Regions from separate parts of the Homo sapiens genome. Here regions 1 and 3 are each linked to region 2. Evidence: promoter capture Hi-C in human tissues and cell types (Jung and others, 2019). All regions are on one chromosome and are shown on one strand. Each heading gives the region's core, a stretch centred on a gene start or on the middle of the fragment in contact. The rest is flanking DNA. Distances are from core to core; before and after follow the strand shown. Region 1 has its middle 14 kb from the start of NKX2-5. Region 2 holds the start of ATP6V0E1 (ATPase H+ transporting V0 subunit e1). Region 3 holds the start of MIR8056 (microRNA 8056).

Region 1 (4,873 bases), core at 1,257-3,756, 270 kb before region 2:
ACCACGTTCCGGTTATCTAACTGCTGCATAACAAACAATCCCAGAACTCAGTGGTATGAAAACAAACGTTTCATTATGCTCACTGATTTTGAGGGTTGGAAGTTTGGAGAGGACACAACAGGGATGAGTTTTCTCTGCTCTATGAAGCCTGGGGCCTCAGCTATGAAGACTGGATCAACCAGTGGGGCGAAGTAGCTCACGCCTGTAATCCTAGCACTTTAGGAGGCTGAGGCAGGCAGATCACCTGGGGTCAGGAGTTCGAGACCAGCCTGGCCAACATGGTGAAACCCCCGTCTCTAAAATTAGCCGGGTGTGGCCGCATGTGCCTGTATTCCCAGCTACTCAGGAGGTTAAGACAGGAGAATTGCTTAAACTTGGGAGGCGGAGGTTGCAGTGAGCCGAGATCGTGTCACTGCACTCCAGCCTGGGAGACATACCAAAAAAAGACCTGTCAAAAACAACAACAACAACAACAAAACCTGGATCAGCTAGGTGCTGGAATCATCTGGAAGCTTCCTCACTCACACATCTGGCACCTGCACTGGAACGACTAGAAGGCTGGCTTAGCTAGAACTGTCCACCACAGTGTCCTACCTGTGGCCTCTTTCTATAGCTTGAGCTTCTTCACAGCTCAAGGGAGTCAGTCTCTCACACAGTAGCTCAGGGATCCAAGAGCAAATGCTCCAGTAAACAGAAAAGAAGGTAAGTGGCTTTTTCTGACCTACAGCTTGCAGTCTCATGGTGCCACTTCCTTAGTACTCTATTGGTTGAGGCAGTAGAAAAATTGCTGTATTGAAAGCGGGAGGACATAGACCCTACCTCTCAATCAGAAGAGTGGCAAAGAATCTGAGGCTATATTTTACAATGTTATCTTCTTTAGTTCTCACAAATAATCTTTTGACAAAGTACAAGTATTATCCCATTTGACAGATAAGAACACTGAGGTTCAGGGAGATTAAACAATTCCATGCAGTAGGTTGCAGCCCTACTCCAGAGCCTGAGTCTGCCCATCAGATTTCCCGCCTGGCTGATGTTCTCCTTTCTTCTGGATCCTCCCCAAGTCCCCTCCACCCACCAGCCCAAACTCAAGGCACCTCTTCTTCCTCACTTCTTTCTGTTGGATTACCTGCTCTCAATTTCCTTCTTCCCTGGGAGTAGCCAGTGGCACTCCCTCCTCCATTCCATCTTTGCCAGCCTGGGGCCCAGGATGGAAGCTTCAAGGAAGGCAGTCCCCCAGGTTTCCCCAGTCTCTGAAGCCAGCTACTTACAGACTCTTCATACTCTACAAGGCTAGAGTGGGATAGGCCTCTGTCCTCTGGAATCCCCACTGCCTCGGGCCAGCTGTAAGGGAGGTTAGGGCCCTGACATTGCTCTTGACCAGTCCCAACTGGGAATCAAACACCCCACCCCGTGTTTGAGTGGCCCCTTCGTACATTATCATCAAGTGTCTTCAACTAAAAAATGAACGTTTTGAAAAGACAAACGGGAGAATGGCAAAAATATTTGCAGCACAAAATAAAATGACAAAGGGTTCCTAAGATCTCAATAGATCAAAGATGAAAACAGATAATACCTTTTCTTTTCAATTTTTTCCCTAACTCCCCAAACTTGTTAAGATAACACCTCTTTAAAAAGAAAAATACAAACGGGTTTAAAACACTGAAAAATAGGCCAAGCACAGTGGCCCACATCTGTAATCCCAGCACTGTGGGAGGCCAATGTAGGAGGACCGCTTGAGCCCAAGGAGTTCCAGATCAGCCTGGGCAACGTGGCTAGACCCTGTCTCTACAAAAATTTTAAAAACTAGTCAGTCATGGTGGTGGTGCACGCCTGTAGTCCCAGCTACTCAGAAGGCTGAGACTGAAGGATCACTCGAGCCCAGGAGTTCAAGACCAGCCTGGGAAACATAGGGAGACCCCTCTCTCTCCACAAAAAATTTAAAAACTAGCCAGGTGTGGTGGCAAACACCTGTAGTCCCAGCTACTCAGAAGGCTGAGGTGGGAGGATCACTTGAGCCTGGAAAGTAGAGGCTACAGTGAGCCGTGATCACACCACTGCACTCCAGCCTGGGAGACAGAGTGAGACCCTGTCAAATAAATAAACAAACAAATAATGATTAAAATAACTAAAACTAATTTTATGCTATTTTCACCTTGTATTTTGTAAAGATTTTTAAAATGAAAATTCCCAAATTGCTTTCCAGAAGGATTGTTCAAAATTATACCCACATTTCACTCATGTTCTCTTCCTGAACAGCAGCAATCAGGAAAAACTCCCTGGAAGAGGCAGGGCTTAGACTGAGATTTTAAAAGGGGGTAGGCCTCAGCTCTCCTTCCAGGTTTACACTGTGCATGTTTCCAAACTCAAAGAATTTACACTCTTCTGGTTGCATTGCTCTGTAAAGATCTGACCCACTACTATGTATTAAAAAGGGATGCATGATAATGAATTCAGCCCTCTCTGTAAAATCCAAAGGGTCCTATTGCAGTTTCCCCCATTTAATGGGTCATTAAAATATTCTTGGGAAGGACAAAGCTTTAGTTAACTATGAGAAAAACAAGCAGAACCAGCCCTGGATTCTGTCTTCAAAGATTTTACCATGTTGGCAGGCCTGGTAGTCCAGAGCCCAAGAAAATATCCCAGCCACAGATACCCTAGATGTAGACTAGCAGTGCTACAACCTCAAGGTCAGAAGTATGTCACTAGACCAGAGCCAAAAATAGGTGCTATATCATTAAGAGAGTAAAAATGCAAACCACAGACAGGGTGACATTATTCACAATAAGCATATAACCCACAGGGGACTCCTATCTGAATATGCAAAGAACTCTCACTAATCAATAAGAAAAAGGCAAAAGATTTAAACAGGCACTTCACAAAAAAAGTATATTCAAAAAATCAATAAACATTTGAAAAGATCCTCAATTCACTAGTTATTAGGGAAAGGTGAAATAAAACCACAATGAGACACCCCCACGCCCCCACCAGAACGGCTTAAAATCTAAAACATGTAATACCGAATGTTTGCAAGGATGCGGAGAAACTGCCATTTTTGTACACTGCCAGTATGAGGGTAAATCTGTACAACCAGGTTGGAAAACGCTGAGTAGAATGTACTCTAGCTGGATTTGTGAATATCATATGATCCAGCAATTCTACTCCTAGAAATTTACCCAACAGAAATGTGTAAACATGTTCACCAAAAGACACACGCAAGACAATTCATAGAGGCACTCACTATTCCTAACAGTCAAAAACTGGAAACTACCCAAATGTCCATCAGCAGAGAATGGCGATAAACAGTAGCATCTTCACATAATGAAATGTTTCGACAGCAATGAAAAGTAGCTAGCTACAACTACAAACAATGTGATTGAACCTCACAAACATATACTAAGTAAAATTATCAGACACAAAGAGTGTATATACTGTATTTAGATACATGTGAAGTCTGAAAACAGGCAAAACTATTCTGTTGTTAGAAGTCAGAATAGTTACTGCCCTGCCGGGAAACAGAACTCAAGAGGGCTTAGTAGCTACTGGTAATGTTCTGCTTCCTGAACTGCATGCTAGTGAGGCAGCTGTTATTTTGTGCAGTCCTGTGTTACACTGGAGTTAAAAGTTCCCCCAAAATCAGAAAGTGTTCAGCAAGTGGAAGCAAGTACACTGCTGGACTTGGCTGGGAACTTAGGGGATCCCATAATTTGTCACAGGCACAAGCAAAGCCAGCTTTCTTGCCCTAAGTAGCATCTCCCAGAGTCAGGATCCAGGAATGGTTTGGCAGGCAGGATGCAAGGCAGGATTCGGGAGTGGCTGAGAGTTTTCCCAGTGCCACCTGGTCCCACCTCCCCTCTCCCACTTCTAATGAACGGGCAGTACAGCTTCTGTTAGGAAAAGAGCCTGGGTCCCTAGGCGATGACTGTCACATCTAGGGAGAGGGCGATGCACTGGGGTCCTCACCTACACCCCCCTTGGCTGTCTCACCACTCTGAATTATAAATGCCCGGACTTCCTCATCTCCCACCCACACATCTTGTTAGAAGAAAAGAAACGAATCTCCCAGGGCTCCTTCTAACAAAAGTGTTCATTCAGAGTAGCCCTGCTTGAGGGCCCCTGGCCTGGAGGAGTGGGAGAGGCAGCCCTCCCCCTCCAGGAGAGTCATCTCCAGGGCTACCCAGGACTGAGTAACTAGGTCACCAGAGTAACCAAAGAGGCCAGGAGACAAGGGCATTCAAGCATTGGGCCAGGAATGGGAGGGTGATGTCCAGTTCATGTTCTTCTGGTTCCAGCATAGCACACGGTGCAAATGAACCATCATGCAAGAAAACACAGCTAGTCTCCCTTCCTCCACCAGCAACCTTTGGTTACTGATAATAATCAAATTCACTATTTTTTTTTTTTTTTAACTAAGGCTGAGATAATGTCAAAGGACCACAGGGAATAGGAAGGCCTAAACCAAGGCCTTAAAGAATGAGAAGAAGATTCATTCAAAAAAGCCTCCTAAGGGAGGAAGATGTTTTTCCCTCCTTTACTTTTCTACAGTAATTTTTATTTTGGATAAATAAACCCTGATAAATGAGAACCCACGCTTTCCCAAGGCCAGGCTGTGTTTTGGTGGGTGGTCCTCCGTCAGCAGTTGGAGTAATCCAGAGTGATCCCGGGCAAGTCGGAAGGGAGCAAGTCTGTGTTGAAGCCAAGAGGTATCTTTCCCTACAGCTTCTCAAGAGAGGGGATCCCCGTGGGTAATTGTGAGGCTGGAAACACCGAGAGGCTGACTCCCATGTTTATAGAGGTCATTGATGGGTTTGTGCATGGAAGGCAGGAGGAGACTGAGAGTGCTTTGTTATTGTTATTTGGTTTATTTTTATTTTTA
Region 2 (5,043 bases), core at 137-2,636:
TCTCCTGCCTCAGCCTCCCGAGTAGCTGGGATTACAGGCGCCCGCCACCACGCCCGGCTAATTTTTTGTGTTTTTAGTAGAGACGGGTTTCACCGTGTTAGCCAGGATGGTCTCGATCTCCTGACCTCGTGATCCGCCCGCCTTGGCCTCCCAAAGTGCTGGGATTACAGGCGTGAGCCACGGCACCTGGCCAAAAATCTTTTTCTTTTAATAAAGACAATAGAACTATTCACTCAACAGGTATTTATTGGGTGCCTCCTGTGCATACAAGGTACTATGAAAACCAGGCACTATGAAGCCACCAATTAGGTTCAAGAATAAAGCAAGAGATGGTGTTTCTGACAAACTGACTTCAGTCGAAGTTTCACCTCTCATCATCTTGAACTGAGAAAAAAATGACTGAGAAGCAAAAGAGGAACCAGGAAGAGGGTGTTCCAAGGCTCCTTTGAAGATTAAGCCTCTATTTTATACTACAGTTAAAAAGTTTAATTCCAAAAGAGACAAAGCTCTAACCAACAAAGAAGTCTGGAAAAACAAAATCTTTCTTAGCCAATCATTCTAAGCACTTCTTACACTCACATACAAGAGCCGGAGCGCCCTCCAAAAGGCATGACGCAGGGGTTTCTCAACAATACCTCCTGCTCTTTGGTAATTAATCTCGCTTTAGATCAGGCCCCAACCGCCTCCTGGCGCCCACTAGATGCAAGGCCTGGGCTCAATGTTGTCGAAGGAGCTTGTTCTGTACGCAACCGCGACAGCATGGGAGGCAGAGAAGCCAATTTCTGTTTTATTTATTTGATCCTTAAGTTCAGGCAAACGAGGCCTCATGTGGGTGGAAGGCAGGGCTAAAGGGGGACAGTCGACTAGGGACAAACCCCAGTTTCTCCCAGATTCGGCCTGCTCATTTCCGACTGCACCTCCCCACACAGGACTATGATGAGAAAAAATTCCCCTGAAACTCGTTTCCAAGGGGGGTCCACCAAAGGTCACCCTCCACTCGCTCAGGCCGGAGGACACTGAAGCTGCTGCGAAAAGGAACACAAGGAGTTCCGCCGGGTCGGGGGCCTGACTCTGCAGCGCGGGGGGCGCCCATGCAACGTTCTCTGACCCGTGTGGGGGTCGTGCCTTTCCCCGCCCCGGCCTGCTAGCTCCTCACCGCCCGTTCCTCCCAAGGCGGGCCTCACGCACTTACCCCCGGTTAGGACCCTTAGGGATGAACCAAGGCACCAAGAAGCCGACGAAGCCCCAGAACACGCTCATCACAATGAGAGGCACAGTGAGGCCGTGATACGCCATGGTCGCCGCCTGAGCGCCAACCCCTACCCCGTCGCCTCACTCGGATCCCACCAGGAAGTGTCAATAGCTGACCGCGTGACCAGCGTGTGCAAGCCCCGCCTCCCGCGCCCCCACGTGACCCGCGCGCCGGCCTCCGCCCCTCGGGGAGCCCAGAGGCAGAGCCCCGCCTTCGCCTGGCTGTCTCCTGGCTGCAGCTCCTTGGAGGCATGTCGCTCACCCCAGAGCTAGGGATTCGGTCACCCGGGGCTCAGCAAAGTGTTCTGATGAGAACTTGGCCCTTTTAGACAAAGAGTGTAGTTATCTACAGCCTCATCTACTTATGCAACAGACATAGAGAACTTAACAATAGTTGTCCCTTACTATTCTGAATTCCCGTGTGCCTGGCACTGGGCCATGATCTTTAAGTTCATGAGCCCCAGGCCGGGTGCGGTGGCTCACGCCTGTAATCCCAGCACTTTGGCAGGCTGAGGCAGGCGGATCACTTGAGGTCAGGAGTTCGAGACCAGCCTGGCCAACATGGTGTAACCCTGTCTCTACTAAAAATACAAAAATTAGCTGGGTGTGGTGGTGCGCGCCTGTGGTCCCAGCTACTCAGGAGGCTGAGGCAGGAGAATCAATTGAACTCGGGAGGTGGAGGTTGCAGTGAGCCGAGATTGCGCCACTGCACTCCAGCCTGGGCAACAGAACAACACTCTGTCTCAAAAGAAAAAAAAAAAAGTGCATGAGCCCGTGTTGAACTCCTCACTTCAGCCTATGAGGTAATTGTAATTATTATCCCCACTTTGCAGTTGAAGAAACTGAGGCCCAGGGAAGAGGATAAGGATCTTGCCCAAAGTCACATAGTAAGTGGCAGGGCCAGGATTCAACCCCTGATTATCTGATTTTCAAGGCCAGAGCTCTTAACTAGCGCACCACTATTTATCTTGTGTGCTGTGCCAGGCTCTGGAGTTACAGAAGTCAATCAGGCACCCCTGAGGGAGTTCACATTCTGGGGAGCAGATGACCTTGCAAACAGGCGACTCAATGCAGTGTGAAAGTAAGTGGACGACCCTGCAAGGCTTTCTACCCAACTCGTCCTTGCTGAGCCTTGAAAGACAAGTAGAAATTAGCCAGAATGGTAAGAAGAAAAACAGGCCAGGCATGGTGGCTCACACCTGTAATCCCAGCACTTTGGGAGGCCGAGGCGGGCAGATCACCTGAGGTCAGTAGTTCAAGACTAGCCTGGGCAACATGGTGAAATCCCATCTCTACTAAAAATACAAAAATTGGCCAGGTATGCACCTGTAGTCCCAGCCACTCAGGAGGCTGAGGAACAAGAACCGCTTGAATCCCTGGGAGGCAGAGGTTATAATGAGCTGAGATCGCACCACTGCACTCCAGCCTTGGCGACAGAGTGAAACTCTGCCTCAAAAAAAAAAAAAAAAAGAAAGAAAGAAAAAGAAAGGTAAAACAGTTTTGTTTGTTTGTTTGTTTTTTGAGACAGGGCCTTGCTCTGTCACCCAGGCTGGAGTGCAGTGGTGCTCCATAGCTCACTGCTGCCTGGAACTCCCGGGCTCAAGCCATCCTTCTGCCTCAGCCTCCTGAGGAGCTGGGACTACAGGTGTGCACCACCACACCAGCTAATTTTTAAAATGTTTTGTAGAGACAGAGCCTCGCTATGTTGCCCCGGTGGGTCTTAAACTCCTGGCCTGAAGGGATCCTCCACCTCAGCCTCCCAAAGTGCCGGGATTACTGGCATAAGCCACCGTGCTGAGCTGATAAACAGGGCTTAGAACGCTTGCTGAGAATTTTCACATATGTTAGTTATAGTATGCGCCAAGCTTGGAATAGACAAGGAAGCCAGTTCTCAGAGAGGTTGAGGAGCTTGATGATAAAGCTTACAGGTGAAAGCAAGATAGAAAGCAGGTCTTTAAATGCAATGTGCTTTACCAGGGACCATGGTTTCCTTGCAGTAGCCACATTGCATTAACTCCTGATTTCTTTCATCAAGTAGAATGGATTCCTGTATTAAACGGGAAACTGGACCAATAATCTTCAACATCTGTACCAACTTTTCGGACATGATTCTAAGCCTTTAACCTGATCAGCAATGTAGAAAACTAGTTTGTCTCCTTTGTGCTCATAATGCTTCCCCAAAACTTAGCCCCAGCAGAAATCCTATGGTCCTTAAGTTCTAGCCCAAACACCGCCTTCTCCAAGACCCATTTCATCCTGTTAGCGCATCTCTTTGGCCTTGTTGTATATGTATCTTGACCAACCCTCTACTAGAGGGCCAACTCCTTGAGAATAGGCACTGTTTCACTGATCTTTGTTTCCGGGAGGACTTTATACATAGAATGTGCTCAATAAATAACTGTGCAACTGAATTGAGTAGCTAAGAAGGGATGAGGTCAGAACAAAATTAGAGAAAGAAGTTCATTTCTACTTTCTCCTTCCTTCCTTCCTTCCTTCCTTCCTTCCTTCCTTCCTTCCTTCCTCTCTCTTTCTTTCTTTCTTTTTTCTTTTTTTGATGGAATCTCACTCTGTTGCCCAGGCTGGAGTGCAGTAGCATGACAATGGCTCGCTGCAACCTCCACCTCCCTGGTTCAAGCGATTCTCCTGCTGCAGCCTCCTGAGTAGCTGGGATTTACCAGCGCCCTCCACCACACCAGGCTATTTTTTTTTTTTTGTATTTTTAGGAGAGATGGGGTTTCACCATGTTGGCCAGGCTGGTCTCAAACTCCTGACCTCAAGTGATCCGCCCACCTCGGCCTCCCAAAGTGCTGGGATAATAGGAGTGAGCCACCATGCCCAGCCCCTTTCTTTCTTTTTTTTGAGGCAGAGTCGTGCTCTGTCACCCAGGCTGGCATATGGTGGTACAATCATAGCTTACTACTGCCTTGAACTCCTGGGCTCAAGGGATCTTCCCACCTCGGCCTCCATAGTAGCTAGGACTACAGGCGCATGCCACTATGCTGGCCTAATTGTGTGTGTGCGTGTGTGTGCTTGTGTATGTGTGTGTGTGTGTGTGTGTGTATGTGTGTGTAGAGATGGGGTTTCACCATGTTGCCCAGGCTGGTCTCGAACTCCGGCCTCAAGGAATCCTCCTGCCTTGGCCTCCCAAAATGCTAGGATTACAGGTATGAGCTGCCGCAGTCAGGCCCTTTCCTTTTAAAAATGGTAAAATACAGGTAACATAAAAGTTACTATCTTAACCTTTTAATTTATTTTTATTAATTTATTTAGAGACAGGGTCTCGCTGTCATCCAGGTTGGTGTGGTCTTGGCTCACTGCAACCTTCGCCTCCTGGGTTCAAACGATTCTCCTGCCTCAGCCTCCCAAGTAGCTGGGACTACAAGCATGCACCACCACACCCAGCTAATTTTTGTATTTTTAGTTGGAGACGGGGTTTTACCATGTTGCCCAGGCTGGTCTCAAACTCCTGACCTCAGGAGATTTGCCCGCCTTGGCATCCCAAAGTGCTGGGATTACAGGCGTGAGCCACTGCACCCAGCCCAGAACTTTTTCATATCCCTTCAACAACCACTTCTGGCCAGGTGCAGTAGTGAGACCCCCATCTCTACAAAAAATTTAAACAAAAAATTAGCTGGGCATGATGGTGCATGCCTGTAGTTCCAGCTGCTGCGGAGGGTGAGGTGGGAGGATTGCTTGAGCCCAGGAGGTAAAGGCTGCAGTAAGCTGTGATCACGCCACTGCACTCCAGCCTGGTGATAAAGCAAGACTCTGTCTCAAAAAACAAACAAACAA
Region 3 (4,368 bases), core at 82-2,581, 360 kb before region 2:
CCTCAAGTGGTCCACCCGCCTCGGCCTCCCAAAGTGCTGGGATTACAAGCATGAGCCACCACACCTGGCCAGGAATGTGTTTCTAATCAGCTTAAAATCACCACTCTCCCTGATTTACCACTCAGTCCCACCACGTGCATTCATTCCGCAAATAGTAAGTGACCACCTACCATGTGTTTATCTCTCCTAGGAGCTGAGGGAGAGCCCAGTAAGTACAAAAGGGGTACCTATCCTCAAGAACCACACTGAGGGTGCAACCTGAAGCTCTGTAACTCCACAGCCACTGCATGAGCAAAGTCTCAAGGATGCATCCAGACAATCCACGAACAGGAATAGGCCAGGAGGCACAGCTCCTAGAGGCTGGATGCTCAGAGAAGGCTTCAGAGGAGGTAAGTGAATTAGGGTTTGCCAGAGAAACAGAACCAGTAATACAGTTGACCTTTGAACAACACAGGTTTGAAGTACATAAGCCTACTTATACCTGACATTTTTCAGTAAATGTATTGGAAAATTTTTTGAATTTGAAATTCTCACTAACTGTGTAGCCTAGAAATACCAAAAAAACAAAAAAGGTGTGTCATGAATGCATAAAACATGTAGATAGTAGTCTATTTAATCACTTATTACCATAAAATATACACAATCTATTATAAAAAGTTAAAATTTCTCAAAACTTACACATACAAAATCGACCACAGGCACATTCACATTCTAGAGAAATGTAAACAAATGTAAAGATGTAATATTAAATAATTGCATAAAATTGACTGTAGTACATCCTGTACTGCTGTGATAATTATATAGACATCTTCTGTCTTCTGCAATGAGCTCAAGTGTTTCGAGTATCCACTTAAAATGCTGTGTGACTGTGACACCAATCGTCCACGTGTGAGCAGTTCATCCCTCCAGTAAATTGCATATTGCAGTAAAAAGTGATCTCTTGTGGTACCTGTGTATTTTTCACTGTGTTTAGTGCAACCTTAAATAACACCATGGGGCCCATACGAGGTGCCACTGATGATGCTGGAAGTGCTCCCCAGAAGCAGAGAAAAGCCATGACATCACAAGAAAAAGCCGACTTGCTTGAGATGTACTGTAGATTGAGGTCTGCAGCTACAGCTGCCTGACATTTCAGATAGACAATTCATCTTGCAAACAGATGGTAAGAACTTACTTACGGTATTGGTAAATACAGTACAGTCCTGTACATGTATTTTCTCTTTCTTATAATTTTCCTAATATTTTCTTTTTTCACACTATCTCAGAAGAATCAAATTTCATTGTCTCTAGCTTACTTTATTGTCAGAATACAGTATATTTTACAGTATATAATATTGTAGGAATACAGTATATAACATACAAAATGTATGTTAATGGACTGTTGGTGTTATCAGTGAGGCTTCTGGTCAACAGTAGGCTATTAGTAGTTATGTTTCTGAGGCGTTGATATGGTTTGACTCTGTGTTCCCAATCAAATCTCATGTCAAATTATAATTCCCAACGTTGGGGGAGAGGCCTCGTGGGAGGTGATTGGATCATGGGGGCAGATTTCCCCTTGCTGTTCATGACAGTGAGTGAGTTCTTACGATATCTGGTTGTTTAAAAGTGTGTAGCACTTCCCCCTTCACTCCCCTTCTGCTTGGCCATGGTAAGGTGTGCTTGCTTCCTCTTTGCCTTCTGCCATGATTGTAAGTTTCCTGAGGCCACCTAATGATGCTTCCTGTACAGCCTGCAGAACTGTGAGTCAATTAAAGCTCTTTTCTTCATATATTGCCCAGTCTCAGGTAGTTCTTTATAGCGGTATGAGAACAGACTAATACAGGAGTCAAGAGTTATACTTGGATTTTCAGCTGCAGGAAGGGTGGGCACCCCTAATCCCGAGTTGTTCAAGGGCCAACTGCATATGTGCGGGGCAGTGGGGGTAGTGTGGAGAGAGAGAGGGATTTCTTGTAAGGAACTGGCTCACACGATGGTAGAAGCTGGAAAGTCTGGCCTGCTAGGACAAGCCAGTAGGCTGAAAACTCGGACAGAAGTTGAGGCTGCAGCCTTAAGGCAGAGTTTCTCTAAGGAGACCTCGCTTTTGCTCTTAAGGCCTTCTGCTGAATAGATGGGTCCACCCACATCATCGAGGTTATCTTCTCTACTTAAAGTCAACTGATTGCAGCTGTTAACCACGTCAATAAAATACCTTCACAGCAACACCTAGACTAGTGTTTGATGAAATAACTGGGTAAACAACCTAGCCAAGTTGACACATAAAACTAACCATCACAGGAGGCCTCCCAATAAGGAACAAGAAAAGGCAGCATGAGGGTGTGCAGCCTGGGCCTAGACAAATGGTAGGTCAGAGGGCTGATGGCCACGGGATGAAAACAGGGCCCATGAAGCAGGACCTGCTGTCTGGGAGTCACTCGAACTCCCTGCTGAGAAGTTTGCCACCCACGCCGCAGCCTCTGGGAGCTGCCAAAAGTTCCCCATGATACAGGCGCTACCACAATCTGGGAAGTCTGAGGATGAGCCGGAAGGAACAGGCCACTGAGAAATCTGCTCTATAAACCCGAGGGCAAGACCAGAACCCAGGTTGGGGAGGGGAGTGGAGGGACTGAGCGCAGGAAGGATGCCCCACATGAAGGACGCCCCTGGGCAGAAGCAGCAGCACGAGGAGACAGAGCCAGCTCCAGTGCAGGGTGAGGAGTCTGACCCTTGATGTTGACTGAGACCACTGGGGACATGCAGACAGACGCCGAACACAGGTGGGGACCAGGTGGGCTACTTGGCAATCAGTGATAGAAAACTGCTGGTGCCATGGAAACTGATGGAGTCTCCAGGGAAGAGTGCAAGAGAAAAGGTCAGAGAAATTGGCCAAGGGGCTAGGAGTGACCCTAGAAATAAAGACAAGCCTGGCCCTCAAGCCTTCTCCCGCATGTGACGGCACCAGGTGCAGTCAAGGATGGGGGAGACACAGCCTGGAGGAGAGTTTCCTCTATGTGGAATCAGCCCCTCTGGAGCCTTGAGGCTGCCAGCAGAGGCCCCAGGAGAGGATGAGTAGACTTGCACCAGGCTGAATGGAAGTCCCTGGACACCTAGGAGGATGGGCACCGGGAGGCTCAGGGGTTCCTGAAAGCAGAGTTGTTGGTAACAGGGATACAGACAGCAGTAACCTGGGAGAAAGGGTGAGGTGCATGGAGGATGGGGAAGGACTGGGCGCACAGGGCCTTGTTACTTGACAGAGGTGAAAGGAAGTGGGAGGAGCAGATGCAAATTAGATGATACTCACACAGCCAGGATACAGGAGACCCAGGCTCAAGTTCAGAGTGAAAGGTTAGGCCAGGCACCGTGGCTCACACCTGTAATCCCAGCACTTTGGGAGGCCAAGGCCGGTGGATCACTTGAGGTCAGAAGTTCAAGACCAGGCTGGCCCACATGGTGAAACCCCGTCTCTGCTAAAAATAAAAAAATTAGCTGGATGTGGTGGTACACACCTGTAATCCTAGCTACTCAGGAGACTGAGGCAGGAAAATCACTTGAACCCAGGAGACGGAGGTTGCGGTAAGCCAAGATCACGCCACTGCACTTAAGCCTGGGTGACAGAGCGAGACTCCATCTCAAAAAAAAAGAGACAGAGCAGAAGGTTAGTGTGGCAGCAGCCTCAGGAGGAGGCAAACACTGCCAACAGAGTTCTCAACTTCACACACCTCCCTCGTGCAAAAGGGAGAGGGGAGGGAGCAGCCCCAGATGATGTCAGAAGCTCACACTTCTATGTAGAGTGTACACCAGCCATGGCTTGGGGACTCTCCACACTAACGTGTGTTAAGTCTCTTAATTACCACAATACCCTAAGAGACAGGTACTAGAATTGTCACCATTCTACAGGAAGAGAAACTGAGGAACAGAGAGGCTAATAACCTGCCCAAGGCCACACAGCTAGCAAGTGGCAGAGCTGGGATTCCAATTAGACCGTCAATTTAGGTGTGAGAGGTTAAGTGACCTGTCCAAAATCATAAGGCAAGGAGATAAATTCAGGACTCAGGCACAGGCCCCAGCTATATATATGGTGGCTGGTTTACCCACCCAGAAGCAAGCTAGCTGATGTGGTTTGGATCTGTGTCCCCACCAAATTTCATGTTGAATTGTAGTCCCCAGTGTTAGAGATGGGGCCTGGTGGGAGGTGACTGCATCATGGGGCTGGATCTCTCATGAATGGGTCGGCACCATCCCCTTGGCGCTATTTGTTGTCATGATAGTGACTGAGTTCTCCCAAGATCTGGTTGCTTACAAGTGTGCGGCCCCTCCCACTTCACTCTCTCTTGCTCCTGCTCTTGCTTTGCCTTCCGCCATGAGTAAAAGCCCTCAGGCCTCCCCAGAAGC

What was found. The method cuts DNA at HindIII sites, captures the fragments that hold promoters and counts their contacts. A contact is called where the count stands out against the background at its distance.
Region 1: a contact is called between a fragment that was not itself captured here and the fragment with the promoter of ATP6V0E1 in region 2, in 1 of the 25 tissues and cell types used here (aorta).
Region 3: a contact is called between a fragment that was not itself captured here and the fragment with the promoter of ATP6V0E1 in region 2, in 1 of the 25 tissues and cell types used here (hippocampus).

Annotation. Positions count from the first base shown.
Region 1 is chr5:173,246,508-173,251,380 of GRCh38, reverse strand. No RefSeq gene overlaps it. Among named protein-coding and RNA genes, the nearest start is that of NKX2-5, 14 kb to the right of the region's middle. The HindIII fragment of the contact is 3,285 bases long and covers 864-4,148 here.
Region 2 is chr5:172,980,114-172,985,156 of GRCh38, reverse strand. ATP6V0E1 (ATPase H+ transporting V0 subunit e1) reads right to left here and starts at 1,386. Exons shown (of 4, transcript NM_003945.4): 1 at 1,193-1,386. The coding sequence starts at 1,296. RefSeq lists a silencer at 1,332-1,511 and an enhancer at 1,277-1,571. The HindIII fragment of the contact is 13,025 bases long and covers 1-5,043 here.
Region 3 is chr5:173,343,464-173,347,831 of GRCh38, reverse strand. MIR8056 (microRNA 8056) reads right to left here and starts at 377; the gene lies at 296-377. The HindIII fragment of the contact is 6,275 bases long and covers 1-4,368 here.